Regions from separate parts of the Homo sapiens genome. Here region 2 is linked to region 1. The links are contacts of gene promoters, found by promoter capture Hi-C in human tissues and cell types (Jung and others, 2019). All regions are on one chromosome and are shown on one strand. The core of a region is centred on a gene start or on the middle of the fragment in contact, and the rest is flanking DNA. Distances in the headings are between cores, read along the strand shown.

Region 1 (6,164 bases), core at 247-2,746:
GTAATGTCTTTGAGCCCGGAGGTCCTCATGAGGATGTAGCCCCTGAGCTCTGCGTGGGCAGCCCAGGGTCAGCTTCCCTCACCAAACACAACAGGATGACAAGCTTGGATGTGGCTGCCTGCACACCCCACGAGATATGCAGGATATTACGTGTACAGGTCACCCTATAAACTCTGAAACAACATAAATGATAGCTATTGCTGGCTAACATGTGCAAGAGAAGGTGAGGTTGCCGTGTGCCAGTGGGAAGGATATGTGGGTGTCTGGAGGGTGGGGCAAAGTTCACCATAGGTGCCTGGCTAATCAACAAGGGTGAGTTTAAGAGAAGTTTGTGAAAGGGCCAGTTCCCGCCTGATCTCCAGTTCCCCTGCCTAATGAGATCTGGGTTTGCTTTCCGGAGTGGGTCCTCCTGGGCGCCCGCTGCCACAAATAGCACAGTGGCAGGCACAGCTGGCAGCGGAGGGCAGGCAGTGGAGCGGGCATAGCACACATTGCGTTCCCGAGGAGGGGAGCCCTGATGTGCCGGCACCCAGGGGCTTTGTGCATTCCGCTCCGGCAGCTCGAGCGTCACGGCCCGAACAAAGCGGCTTTGCAGGGCGCTCTCCTACTCCTCGCCATTGGCCACCGGGCCGCGACCTCTCCTTGCTCTGGCAGAGTCCCAGCGCCTTGCGTAGGCACAAAGTCAGCCCCTCACCCCCCAGCGCATGAAGTAGGGGCGGGCATGGCTCTTGGGCCGCTGGAGAGGGGTGGGGTTGTGGGGTCGGAGCTGGCGGCGCCTCCCCGAGCCCGTCCGCGTTGCCCTTCACCCTCCTCGTTCCCCCGCCCACCACACCGCCCTGGCACCTCCCGCCACCTGTTTCCTTGTCCTCCCAGCTCGCCTTCCCCTTCTCCTTATTTTGCATCCTGGGGTTCCAGGGACAAGGTCCCTCCCGGGCCGCCTCCCACCCTACGCACTTCTGAGCCTCAAGGGCACCCGGTCCCGGGTCCCGGGTCTAGACCGGCTCATCGCACAGAGTAGCAGAGCCGGGCTCATCGAGGAGGCAGGAGGGGCTCGCCAGCGTGGCACGGGCGCCCGGCGGGAACCTCCACCCGCCCCGCGGCCGCGCGTCCCCGCCTCGAATTCAGCCCCGCCCCGGTGCGCCGGGCTGGAGGGGCGCTGACGCTCAGCGGTGTCCCATCGGTGACCTTGGACGGTCCCTCCACCTCTCCGGCCTCAGTTTCCCTTGGCTGCAGCGGCCGCGGGGCGCTAGGTGGGAGCCGCTGAGCGCTCCCGGGGCCCCGCCCACCGCGAGCAGCCAATCGGGCGCCGCCCTCCGGGGGGTGTGTCCCGGGGCCGAGGCCCGGGGCCCGGAGGGCGCGCGGGGCGGGCGGGGCTTCCGGGTCGGGCCTCGGGACACTGGCTCGCGCGGACCGGGGCAGGGGGCGGGCCGAGGGGCGGTGCGTGTCGCGGGGGCGCGGCTGGCACGGACGCGCGGAGGCGGCGCCGGGCATGGGCCGTGGACGCGGCGGCCCCGCGGCGGGGGCAGCGGGCGGCGGGGGCGGAGGCGGCCGCTAGCGCCCTGCCCGGCGCCGCCTCCTTCGGCGTTCGCCCCACGGACCGGCAGGCGGCGGACCGCGGCCCAGGTGCCCGGGGGCGGGCGGGCGGGCGGGCGGGAACGCGCGCGGGGGTCCGCGGTCCGGGCTTCCCAGGTCCCGGGACCCGGAGGGCGGCGGACGGGGGAGGGGCAGGGGCTGGGCGGCGCATGCGCGGGGCCCGGGGTCTCGGGGTCTCCGGGTCCCGGGGACCCGGGGGCCCGGGGTGCGCGGCTGGGGACCTGAGGGCGAGGAGCGAGGACACACACCGAGGACTCTTGCGAGGGATCTCGGGGCCCAGCTCGGCCTCCCTCCTAGCGCTGGGGGCCTGCCCGGAACCCGAGTCCGCGGCTGTCCCTGGGGTTTGGCGCTGCGCGGAGGTCGGGTCTGGGGACCGCAGCGACTCTGGGTCTTCGGGTTGTCCCCTCGGAGGGAGGGCCCACGGGCGGGGACATCGGGACTTGCCCTTTCCTCGGCGCAGCGGAGCTGGGGCGTCGCCGACTCAGAAGGTGCTTTCCGAGACCTCCAGGGATCTCCGAGGCGAGGAAACCCGGGCCCCGGACAGACCGACCCTGGGTGGGTGCGCCCGGCTTCTGCCGTCGGACGGAGACGCGCGTGTTTGTTCCTCCAGCTGCGACCACCTTTGAGGAACGGTTCCCACTTTGTGCCCCAACGCGGCGGGGCGACCCCGGACAGGCTGCGCTGGGCCGGGTGGCTTCTCTGCGGAAGCCGCGCCACGTCGCTCCCGGTCGGGGCCGCTGAGGGTCGGGCGCCCAGGTCTTTCCGGAGTCCCGGGCTGCGCGGCCCGCGTGGTGCGGGTGAAGCTGGAGGGGCGCGGGGTGGTGCCAGTGGAAGTCAGGAGGGTCGGCCCTGCCCCCTCACGCACCCCAACCGGGCACAACTGCACGCCTGTGCTTTTCTGAAGTCTTTTTTAAAAGTTAAAAGAGAGGAAGTGTGCTCCAAGTGTCAGGATTCTTTCCAAGAAAAACCCACAGTTGTCCAATGGCCTGGGCTTCGTGGGACCTCCGGGGCTGCACGCCCACGTCAGCCTCAGCCGACCCCTGCCAGGAAACCAGGGAGGCCCCTCCTCTCCCAGCCTCCTTGGGATAAGGGTGCCTTGGGGAACTGGGTCAGGGCAAGGACACGGGATTTTCCTGGGAAGGACCCTGCGACACCCGTGTCGTTGCGGGGCAGGGTCAGCATGACTTTCCTCTTCCAAGGTGAAGAGTTGGGGGGCATCCAGAGAACAACCGTAATCACTTCCTCCTTCACCTTCTTACTGCCAGGCTGAAGCTCAGGGCCCTGTCTGCTCTGTGGACTCAACAGTTTGTGGCAAGACAAGCTCAGAACTGAGAAGCTGTCACCACAGGTAAATAGAAGGTTTAATTTACTGTTTCCAGATGGAAATATTTAAGTGTTTTCAGTGTTTACTTCTGTTGCACTACAGACCAGCAATCTGGGGGTTATTACTTTGTGATGCAAGGTTAGATACGTTTTCAGACTGAAAGTAAAATACATGTGCATGGATTCATTTTTTTTTTTTTTTTTTTTTTTTGAGACGGAGTCTCGCTCTGCCGCCCAGGCTGGAGTGCAGTGGCCTAATCTCAGATCACAGCAACCTCTGCCACTGGGGTTCAAGCGATTCTCTTGCCTCAGCCTCCCGAGTAGCTGGGATTACAGGCGCCTGCCACCATGCCCAGCTAATTTTTGTAGTTTTAGTAGAGGCGGGGTTTCACCATCTTGGCCAGGCTGATCTTGAACTCCTGACCTCATGATCCACCTGTTCCTCCCAAAGTGCTGGGATTACAGACGTGAGCCACCGTGCCTGGCCTAGGATTCACTTTGAAGTTCTGAGTTATTGTGTGACTTTTGCTAGGAACTTCATTGCTTCGTGGCAGGCATGTTTTGTATAATTTAAAACTTGATGACATTAACTTTGAGAAACGTGAGTGCTTACTAGACCCTTGGGATGTCCACACTGACTGGTACCGAGTAGTGTACTGTCTCTGAGCTGTTTTCATTTTGATTTGAATATTAAGCAGATGGCTTCTTGAGATAGACCCGTGCCAGAACATGCCAGGGATAGGCTGAAGAAACGGGCCAGATGATACAAATTTGTGTGGTCACCATCCATGAGAGACCAGGGACACTGGGGCTGATGATGACCTCTGCAACTCTGAAGCAAAAGTAAACTAATTGGCAAGTTGGGTGCGGTGGCTCACTCCTGTAATCCCAGCACTTTGGAAGCTGGGGTGGGCAGATCGCTTGAGGCCAGGAGTTCGAGACCAGCCTGGCCAACATGGTGAAACCTTGTCTCTACAAAAAAATAGAAATATTGCCTGGGCATGGTGGCGGACATCTGTAATCCCAGCTACTCAAGAAACTGAGGCAGGAGAATCGCTTGAGCCTGGGAGGTGAAGGTTTTAGTGAACTGAGATTGTGCCACTGCACTGCAGCCTGGGCGCCAGGGCGAGACTCCGTCTCAAAAATAAATAAATAAAATAAAATTAATTAACTAATTGACATTAGAAAAAAATGTTTTTTCTTTCTTTTCCCACATCCTTTTTTTTTTTTTTTTTTTTTTTGTGACAGAGTTTTGCTCTTGTCACCCAGGCTGGAGTGCAGTGGCATGATCTTGGCTCACCGCAACGTCCACCTCACGGATTCGAACAATACTCCTGCCTCAGCCTCCCGAGTAGCTGGGATTACAGGCACTCACCACCACACCCGGCTAATTTTTGTATTTTTAGTAGAGGTGGGTTTCACCATGTTGGCTGGGCTGGTCTCAAACTCCTGACCTCAGGTGAACCGCCTGCCTTGGCCTCCCAAAGGGCTGAGGTTACAGGTGCGAGCCACCGCGCCGGGCCCTTTTCCGACATCTTAAACGTAAAGTAGGAGACGTGTCATAATCATCGAATACTGCAGTGGTTTTCATTAGCTCCTGTTTGTCAAACTTATGAACAGAGTTTTAAAAATTGTGTATCAGCCGGGTGCGGTGGCTCACACCTGTAATCTTTGGGAGGCTGAGGTGGGCAGATGACAAGATCAGGAGTTTGAGACCAGCCTGGCCAATATGGTGAAACCCTGTCTCTACTAAAAATACAAAAATTAGCTGGGCATGGTGGCGGGTGCCTATGGTCCCAGCTACTCAGGAGGCTGAAGCAGGAGAATCTCTTGAACCCGGGAGGTGGAGGTTGCAGTGAGCTGAGATGGCACCACAGCACCCCAGCCTGGGTGACAGAGCAAGACTCCGTTTCCAAAAAAAAAAAATTGTATATGAGAGAGACAGAACTAGACAGAGAAGAAGGAGAAAATGTGTCTTCTTTATACACTATTTTGTAACTTGCTTTATCGAGTAGGTTATGAAAAATCTTCCTATGTGAAAAACATTTCTGCATCATTTGAAATGTCTATATAATATCCCATTGTGTTTAGATACAATAATATTTAGCCAATCTCTTTATGTGTATATATTTAATACAGTCATTCTATAAATATTGACTGAGTAGCTGCTGTGGGCTACTGTCCGCAGTGCTGAACAAGACAAGCATGAATCCATGAAACTGATTTTCATACCAGAATATAAAAAAGAAACTTAAAGATAATCCTCATCATGGTAAAAGATGAAGAACCTATTTTTGCCGGGACATCTTACTCTTTAGTAATTGGTGGCCAGTGTTCTTTTTCTTGCATGCTGTTTTGGAGAGTCTGTTTTTTAAATAAATATTTAAGTAGCCTGGGCGCAGTGGCTCACGCCTATGGTTTCAGCACTTTGTGAGGCCGAAGGGGATGGATTGCTTGAGCCCAGGGCTTCAAGACCAGCCTGGGCAACCTGGCGAAACCCTGCATCTACTAAAAATACAAAAATTAGCCAGGTATAGTGGCGTGTGCCTGTGGCCCCATCTACTTGGGAGGCTGAGGTGGGAGGATCCCTTGAGCCTGAGAAGTGGAGGTTGCAGTGACTGAGATGGCACCACTACACTCCAGCCTGGGTGACAGAGTGAGACCTGGTCTCAAAAAATAAATAAATATTTATGTAATCATCTTTAAGCAGTGTTTTTAATTTTATTTATTTATTTATTTATTTTTGAGACAGGGTCTCACTGTGTCACCTAGGCTAGAGCACAGCTGCATGATCACGGCCTATTGCAGCCTCGACCTCCCTGGGCTCAGGTGATCCTCCCACCTCAGCCTCCCAAGCAGCTAGGACCACAGGCACACGCCACCAGGCCTGACTCATTTTTGTATTTTTTGCAGAGACGGGGTCTTGCTATGTTGTTCAGACCTGTCTCAAACTCCTGGGCTCAAGCCATCCTCCTGCCTCGGCCTCCCATAGTGCTGGGACTAAGCCATGAACCACTGCACCCGGCATAAGTGGTCTTTCTTTAAAAAAAAAAAAAAAAAAAAAAAAAAAAAAAAAAAAAAACCACATTAATTAAAATATGTATTTGCTTATTATAAATATATTTGAAACATGCCAATTTTTCTTCTCTTTTTTTGCTCTATTGGTTTCTGTGTGTGGATGGATATATTTTTAATGGCAAATAGGATGAGTGTCTTTACTTCCAAGTAGTCAGTGTTTTTCTTTAATG
Region 2 (6,550 bases), core at 2,282-4,781, 1.1 Mb before region 1:
ACTAAGGGAGAGCCCTTCCTCATTAATTTCTTGACCTGGAGAATGTTTATTGCCCTTTCCCTTGCTTCCTGATTCTACACCATTTCATTTATAACAAAAGGCTTTTTCCTTAAAAAAAAAACAACAACAACAGAAGTTTTGTTTGTTTGTTTGTTTGTTTGTTTTGAGACAGAGTCTTGCTCTGTCACCCACGCTGGAGTGCAGTGGTGCAATCTTGGCTCACTGCAACCTCCGCCTCCCGGGTTCAAGCAATTCTCACGCCTCAGCCTCCCAAGTAGCCGGGATTACAGGCACGCACCGCCGCACCGGGCTAATTTTTGTATTTTTAGTAGAGACGGAGTTTCGCCATGCTGGCCAGGCTGATCTTGAACTCCTGACCTAAAGTGATCCACCCACCTTGGCCTCGCCAACTGCTGAGATTACAGGTGTGAGCCACCTGGCTAAAAAACCGAAGTTTTTGATGAGACAATTTACTTGTAGATTTTTAAAAGTTTAACCAGTATATGTCTTAGTTATTCCATGTTCACTGTTTACCCACTAAAAAAAAATTCAATTCCATTATATTCTAGTTCTTTTTTCAGTTAAAGATTTTAATATATGTCAGGGGTGATGGCTCACACCTGTAATCCCAGCACTTTGGGAGGCCAAGGTGGGCGGACCACTTGAGCCCCTGAGTTTGACACCACCCTGGGCACCATGGCAAAACCCCATCTCCACAAAAAAATGCAAAAATTATCCAGACATGGTGGCACAAGCCTATAGTCCCAGATACTGGGGGGGCTGAGGCGGGATGATCACTTGAGCCTGGGAGTAAGGTTGCAGTAAGGTTGCAGTAAGCCTGGCAACAGAGCAAGATCCTGTCTCAAAAAAAAAGAAAAGAGGCTGGGCGCAGTGGCTCATGGCTATAATCCCAGCACTTTGGGAGGCCGAGGCAGGCGGCTCACCTGAAGTCAGGAGTTTGAGACCAGCCTGGCCAACATGGTGAAACCCCATCTTTACTAAAAATACAAAAAATTAGCCGGGTGTGGTGGTACATGCCTCTCATCCCAGCTACACGGGAGGCTGAGACAGGAGAATCCCTTGAACCAGGGAGGCGGAGGTTGTGGTGAGCCGAGATCACGCGACTGCACTCCAGCCTGGGTGACAGAGTGACACTGTCTCAAAAAGAAAGAAAGAAAGAAAGAAAAGGTAATACAGTTGTGCCCTTGCCATAGGTCTGTCCTCATCACTACTTTGCCTAAGCTTTTATTTACTGACTTGCAGAACATTTATCCCAGCTAAACCCAGAAGCAACCCAGGAGCCTGTCCTGATGAAGAGACAGAGCCAAGAGGATGCTCACCACCAGCCCTCACCTCTCAAATTCTAATAAAAATGCCTCAAATCTGCCCAGTTAAAGATATGCAGCAAGGATGGGGATGTATTTATTCAATTATTCATTTGATATGACCCTTCCCCCTGCTCCAGGCATGTGAGCCGTGCCTGCTTCCCCTTCACCTTCCGCCATGATTTTAGGTTTCCTGAGGCTACCCCAGAAGCAGAAGCTGCTATGCTTCCTGTACAACCTATGGAGCCATCAGTCAATTAAACCTCTTTTCTTTATAAATTACCCAGTCCCAGGTATTTCTTTATAGCAGTTGCGAGAACAGACTCATACATCCTCCAGCAGCTCATTCACCATCCAGCAGCAAATATAAGCATGGCCCTCCTGGCTCAGACTCCTCAGCTTCAAGGTTGAGAGCTTCCAAGCTGCTCCTCACCAACTGCCCAGCTCAGTGGTCACTCCAGCCACGCTGGACACCAGCAGTCTCTCTCTCCCCAAGTCTCGCTGGCCTCTGGGCTTCAGCACAGCCTGTCCCCCATGGCTAACTGCTGCTACCTCTATGCTGCAATTTCCAGGTCAGCTGTGCCCACCCCCTTATCCCCCCAGGCCCTAGTGCCCCTCAGCTGGGACATTCCCTGGAGGCCACGCAGCCTGTGCTGTCCCATCTGAGGACTTCTCCGATGCTATCAAAAGTGCCTGTGACCTCTGACTCCCCCAGGGGCTCCACCTCAGTGACCGTGCCCTGGCCACTTTCCAGCTTTCACACCGAGCCTGAGACACAGCAGACATTCAATAAATCTTTGATGAATAAAGGCAGGATCCACTGACTACTTTAAGGGAAGTGAGATGATCAAGTTTGCTTTTGTAAATATTTGTCTAAGTTATTAAAGCAGCCCATATTAGTGATAACCAATGAAAATGACACCAAAGAGCCTCCCAAGAAATGACTTCTCCAGATCTCATTCCTCGGGGGTAACTGCTGTTTTCAGTTTGGGATGAATCATTTCAGAATTAAAACAATAACAACACAACCAGCACCAATCCAATTCCATATACAGGGAAGCATTTTTTAAAGAATAAATATAGATATCCGTGCATACATGCATAACATTATACTATATATACCATCTTGTAACTTGCTTTTGTCTATAAACATATCAAGAATCGGGAATATTTTTCTGTAATAGATACTATTTGTAAATAGATACTATCTGCTTTTTTAAGCTTGCATCTTATTCAACTTAGCGAATGCACCATAATATATATTTTTTTCTTTTTTCTTTTGAGACAGGGTCTCACTGTCACCCAGGCAGGAGTGCAGTGGAGCAATCAGGTGTCACTGCAGCTTTGACCTCCCAGGTTCGAGTGATCTTCAACCTGCCCAGTAGCTGGGACCACAGGTGCATGCCATCATGCCTGGCTAATTTTTGTATTTTTTGATAGAGATGGGGTCTCCCTATGTTGCCCAGCCTGGCCTTGAACTCCCGGGTTCAAGCAATCCTCCCACCTTGGCCTCCCAAAGTGCTGGGATTATAGGCATGAGCCACCATGACCAACCACATTTTCTTTTAAAATGAACGTCTTATTTTGGAATAATTTTAGATTTACAGAAATGTTGTGAATATAGCACAGAGTTCCCCTAATGTTGCCATAACCATGGGACATTTGTCAAAACTAAACATGCACGTTGGTATATCATTATTAACGAAATCTTTTGCTTGCGTTTCACCAGTTTTCTCACTAAGGCCCTTTTTCTGTTCCAGGACCTAGTCCAGGCATTGAGTTTCTCCCTGCAGCCCTGATTTAGCAATTCCCACATGGTGGACACTTGGTGTTTTGCACTTTTGCTGTGCCATGAGGCTGCAGTCCGCACCTCGTGGCCTCTCTCCCTGCTCACCTGCACACATCCTTCCCTCCCACAGGTGCATCCTTCCCTCCCACAGATGGGCCAGAGTGGAGGGCAGTGCGAGGTTATGCAGGCACAGGAGGCTGCTCCCAGAGGAGGGAGGCGTGGCAGTTGTCTACCTTACCTCCACCTTGTTTCTGTGATTTGCACTTTAGCAAGCTCACTCTGGCTCCTGGGGCTGAGACTTGGAGGGAGAAGGCTGGTCTAGAGGCTTCAGTGGAGGGACAGAGGCAAGGGGACAGACATTAGAGAGCTTTAGACAAGACTCCTGTCTGGTTGGGTGTGGAGTTGAGTGAGGGGAATGATGAAGGACTTCAGCTTTGTTATTTAGGCAAAGGAAGTCATGGGGCCCTTCAGGGAGGCAGCAGGAACAGGGGAGGAGGTTCATCAAGAGGCTGAGGGATCCAGTTGTGGCTCCGATGTTTGGGTGCCCTTGGGATACCCGGGAGGCAGGAGTCATAGATTTGGAGCGTCCCGAGTGGCCAGACGAGAGCCGAAGCCATGGATGGGGATGTGACGCCCTTCCTTCTAGATTGGATCTACCGAATTAAAGACACACACAAGCTCAAGCACACGTGCACACACAAAGCTTGTTTTTTAAAATCCAGCAGAAATTGTGCGGACACACACAGCTGGAGGGTGATTTAGCTACAGAACACAGAGACCTGGAAAACCCAGCAGGAGGAGCTGAGCCTGCCGTGGATGCCCTGGTGGAAGAGCTGTGAAGAAGCGTTACATCCAGGCTAGTGGCACCAGCAGGTAGCTGAAGGGGATGTGTGATGCAGGTCTGTGGCCGACACCCGGCCATCCTGCTCTTTCTGCTGCGCTGAGCTAGACAACAGTCTGTCCCACTCCAGGCACGTTGCCTTTCCCCGGTGCCCCTTACATGGATCTCTGGGCCGCCTGGGTCTAGCCTGTCCCCAACTTGCCATCACCCCTCACTCCTCCACCTGCCATTCCGCACAGGAGGAAACTGAGCCACTGCCCCGCTTCTGAGAACTCCTCAGCTATCCTTAACTCTCCCACAGCCTCCCCTCTGAGGATGAGTGTCTTCACCTGCAGAGCCTGCAGCGGGGGACAAGATTAAGGTTAAGGTCCTTCCTTGAGTCAGAGTAGCATGGGCAATGAAGGAACCATGGGCAGGCAGATCTGGTTCCAATCTTACGTCAGATCTGATCAGCTATGTGACTTTAAGTCAGTTATTTAACCTCTCTGAGATATACATCTCTCTCTCCCTCTCTCTTTCTAGTGGGGACGATAATTCCCAGCTTGCAGGGGTTTTCTGGGAAGCTGAGAACATGGATGTGAAGTATCTAGTACATCACTGGGACTAACTAAACAGCAGCTGTAATTACAATTATTATAGGAATTCTGAGCTATTTCAACTCCACAGTTAAAGGGAGATATTTTCAAAGTTCCAAGCCATGTAAGGTAAATCAGGGACAGTTCACACTGCCACTGTCCCCCAGAGTGAATTATTCACCCTGAAAAGTGTGTTCAATAGAGATTATTAACTTGCAGAGGGGAATAAGTTTCAAAGAATGGCAAAAGCACGTCTAATCTTAATTAGGTGCCATTTTTCTCTGTCCACCTAGAAAAAAACTAGTTCCTGGATTTGCAGGAGCTGGGGTCCATTGCAAAGGGGAAAACAATAGCTTAGAGGATTCCTGCACGTTAGGATAAAGGAGAGACTATCCATGGGGGAGGACCACATGGAAAAACACTGCTCTGTCCAGGGGTGAGTGAGTGTCACAGCCTCCTCCCATGTCACAACGCACAGTGCTGCCTCTACTTGGGACATCAGTGTGTTTCAGAAGCCATCAGATTCTCTGTGAAGTGCACAGTTTACAAGCCCTATGTTCCCGCCAACTGGCACCCTGAGACAGTGGCTTTGTGCCCTGAGCCTGGGCTGCAGTGGAATGAAAGTTCATTGCACATTGAGCTGCTGGAACAGAAGGTGGTTTGCTCAACATGGTACAGCTCCGACCGTGAGCTGATGGAAGCCTGTTCTTGAGGGAGGCTTCTGTCCCCTTCCCCTATTCAGAGCAGCCCCTGCGCTTTCACACAGGAGTTCAGCTGAGGAGTATCCCGAACTCAGAGGACCCCTCTGTGTTCCAGTCAAGCCTCTGCCATCACCTGCTATGTGTCTTTGGGAAAGTCCCTCAACTTCTCTGTGACTCAGTTTCTTCACCTGTAAAACAGGGATGACAAGTGTATTTGCACCATCTACCCGTTAAAGAGAATAATGGACGTAAAGGTGCCATGTGCCCACATAATTCATCGTGATTGTCATTCTCTTGTTCTACTTGTGCCCCCCACCCCAAGACTTCCTGCCCAAGAATGTACCATGGAAAATCCAGGCACTGTGGCCTCACAGAATGTGCTGGAAGAGGGTGTTTTGGTGAGGAGGTGGTGTCCCCCATGGAATGCAGCTGAGAGAGTAAGTAAGCGGAGGCCAAGCACCCCTATGAGCCCTGACTGAGGCCTCTTCATGGGGCACCTCCCGAGGCTCTGGTCACGCACCACCCACCTCGCTCAGGATCCTACGCCCTCCACTTCTTACCAGGGCGCCCACTCCAGAAGTTCAGTGTAAGTCATTACTCTCCCAATGTAAGGCTTTCAATGCACCCCATAAAGAGGGGCCCAGGTGCTGGCTCTTTCCACCCCTGCTCCCGTCCCACTCCAACCCATCCCTCCTGGCTTTGGCCATCACTGTCCCACCGCAACCTCAGGGCCACCATGTTCGTGGTCCCCATCTGTCCTCAGCAACACTCAACTCCTGGACTGCCCCCTTCTTCCCGTGGCCCCCGGCTCCCACTGTTCCCCACCCTCCTTCCCAGGCTCCATGGCCAGGTGGCCCCTCTGCCCATCCTGAGCCTCTGCTCTCTGGTTGGCCACCCCAGCACGTGACTCACCTGGGCTAAATGCCCTTCAGCCGCATCTCTCCCTGAGTACTGTGCGTGGCCATCAGCTCCTTCTTGTCACCTCTCTGGACTCTCAGTGGGCATCTCAGGTTCAAATAAAAGTCCCCACTCCCTCTCCCCCAAGCAGCCCCTCCCCTGTCCTCTATCTGGTTGTCTACAGCAAAGCCCTGGGCAGCAGTCATGGCTCCCACGTCAGTCCACCCCATTTCTCATGGGACCACCTTCAGATTTCTGAGCACTTGCCCAGCCTCCTTCAACCTCCTCAGGAGGTCACCCTGCACTTCTGCAAGCCAGGCTCTGCCTTTCCTCCTGCAGGAGAGCTCTGTGTGTCCTTTGGCCATCACCTTAGAGCCCGCAGCACATCCAAGCTTATCCACTCACATCTTCTTTCCACCCTT

The links. The method cuts DNA at HindIII sites, captures the fragments that hold promoters and counts their contacts. A contact is called where the count stands out against the background at its distance.
Region 2: a contact is called between a fragment that was not itself captured here and the fragment with the promoter of PPARA in region 1, in 1 of the 25 tissues and cell types used here (dorsolateral prefrontal cortex).

What each region holds. Positions count from the first base shown.
Region 1 is chr22:46,149,030-46,155,193 of GRCh38, forward strand. PPARA (peroxisome proliferator activated receptor alpha) reads left to right here and starts at 1,497. Exons shown (of 9, transcript NM_005036.6): 1 at 1,497-1,623; 2 at 2,859-2,941. RefSeq lists silencers at 958-1,567, 1,718-1,837 and an enhancer at 2,048-2,237. The HindIII fragment of the contact is 15,597 bases long and covers 1-6,164 here.
Region 2 is chr22:45,045,550-45,052,099 of GRCh38, forward strand. No RefSeq gene overlaps it. Among named protein-coding and RNA genes, the nearest start is that of PHF21B, 39 kb to the left of the region's middle. RefSeq lists enhancers at 4,011-4,584, 6,383-6,550. The HindIII fragment of the contact is 3,274 bases long and covers 1,895-5,168 here.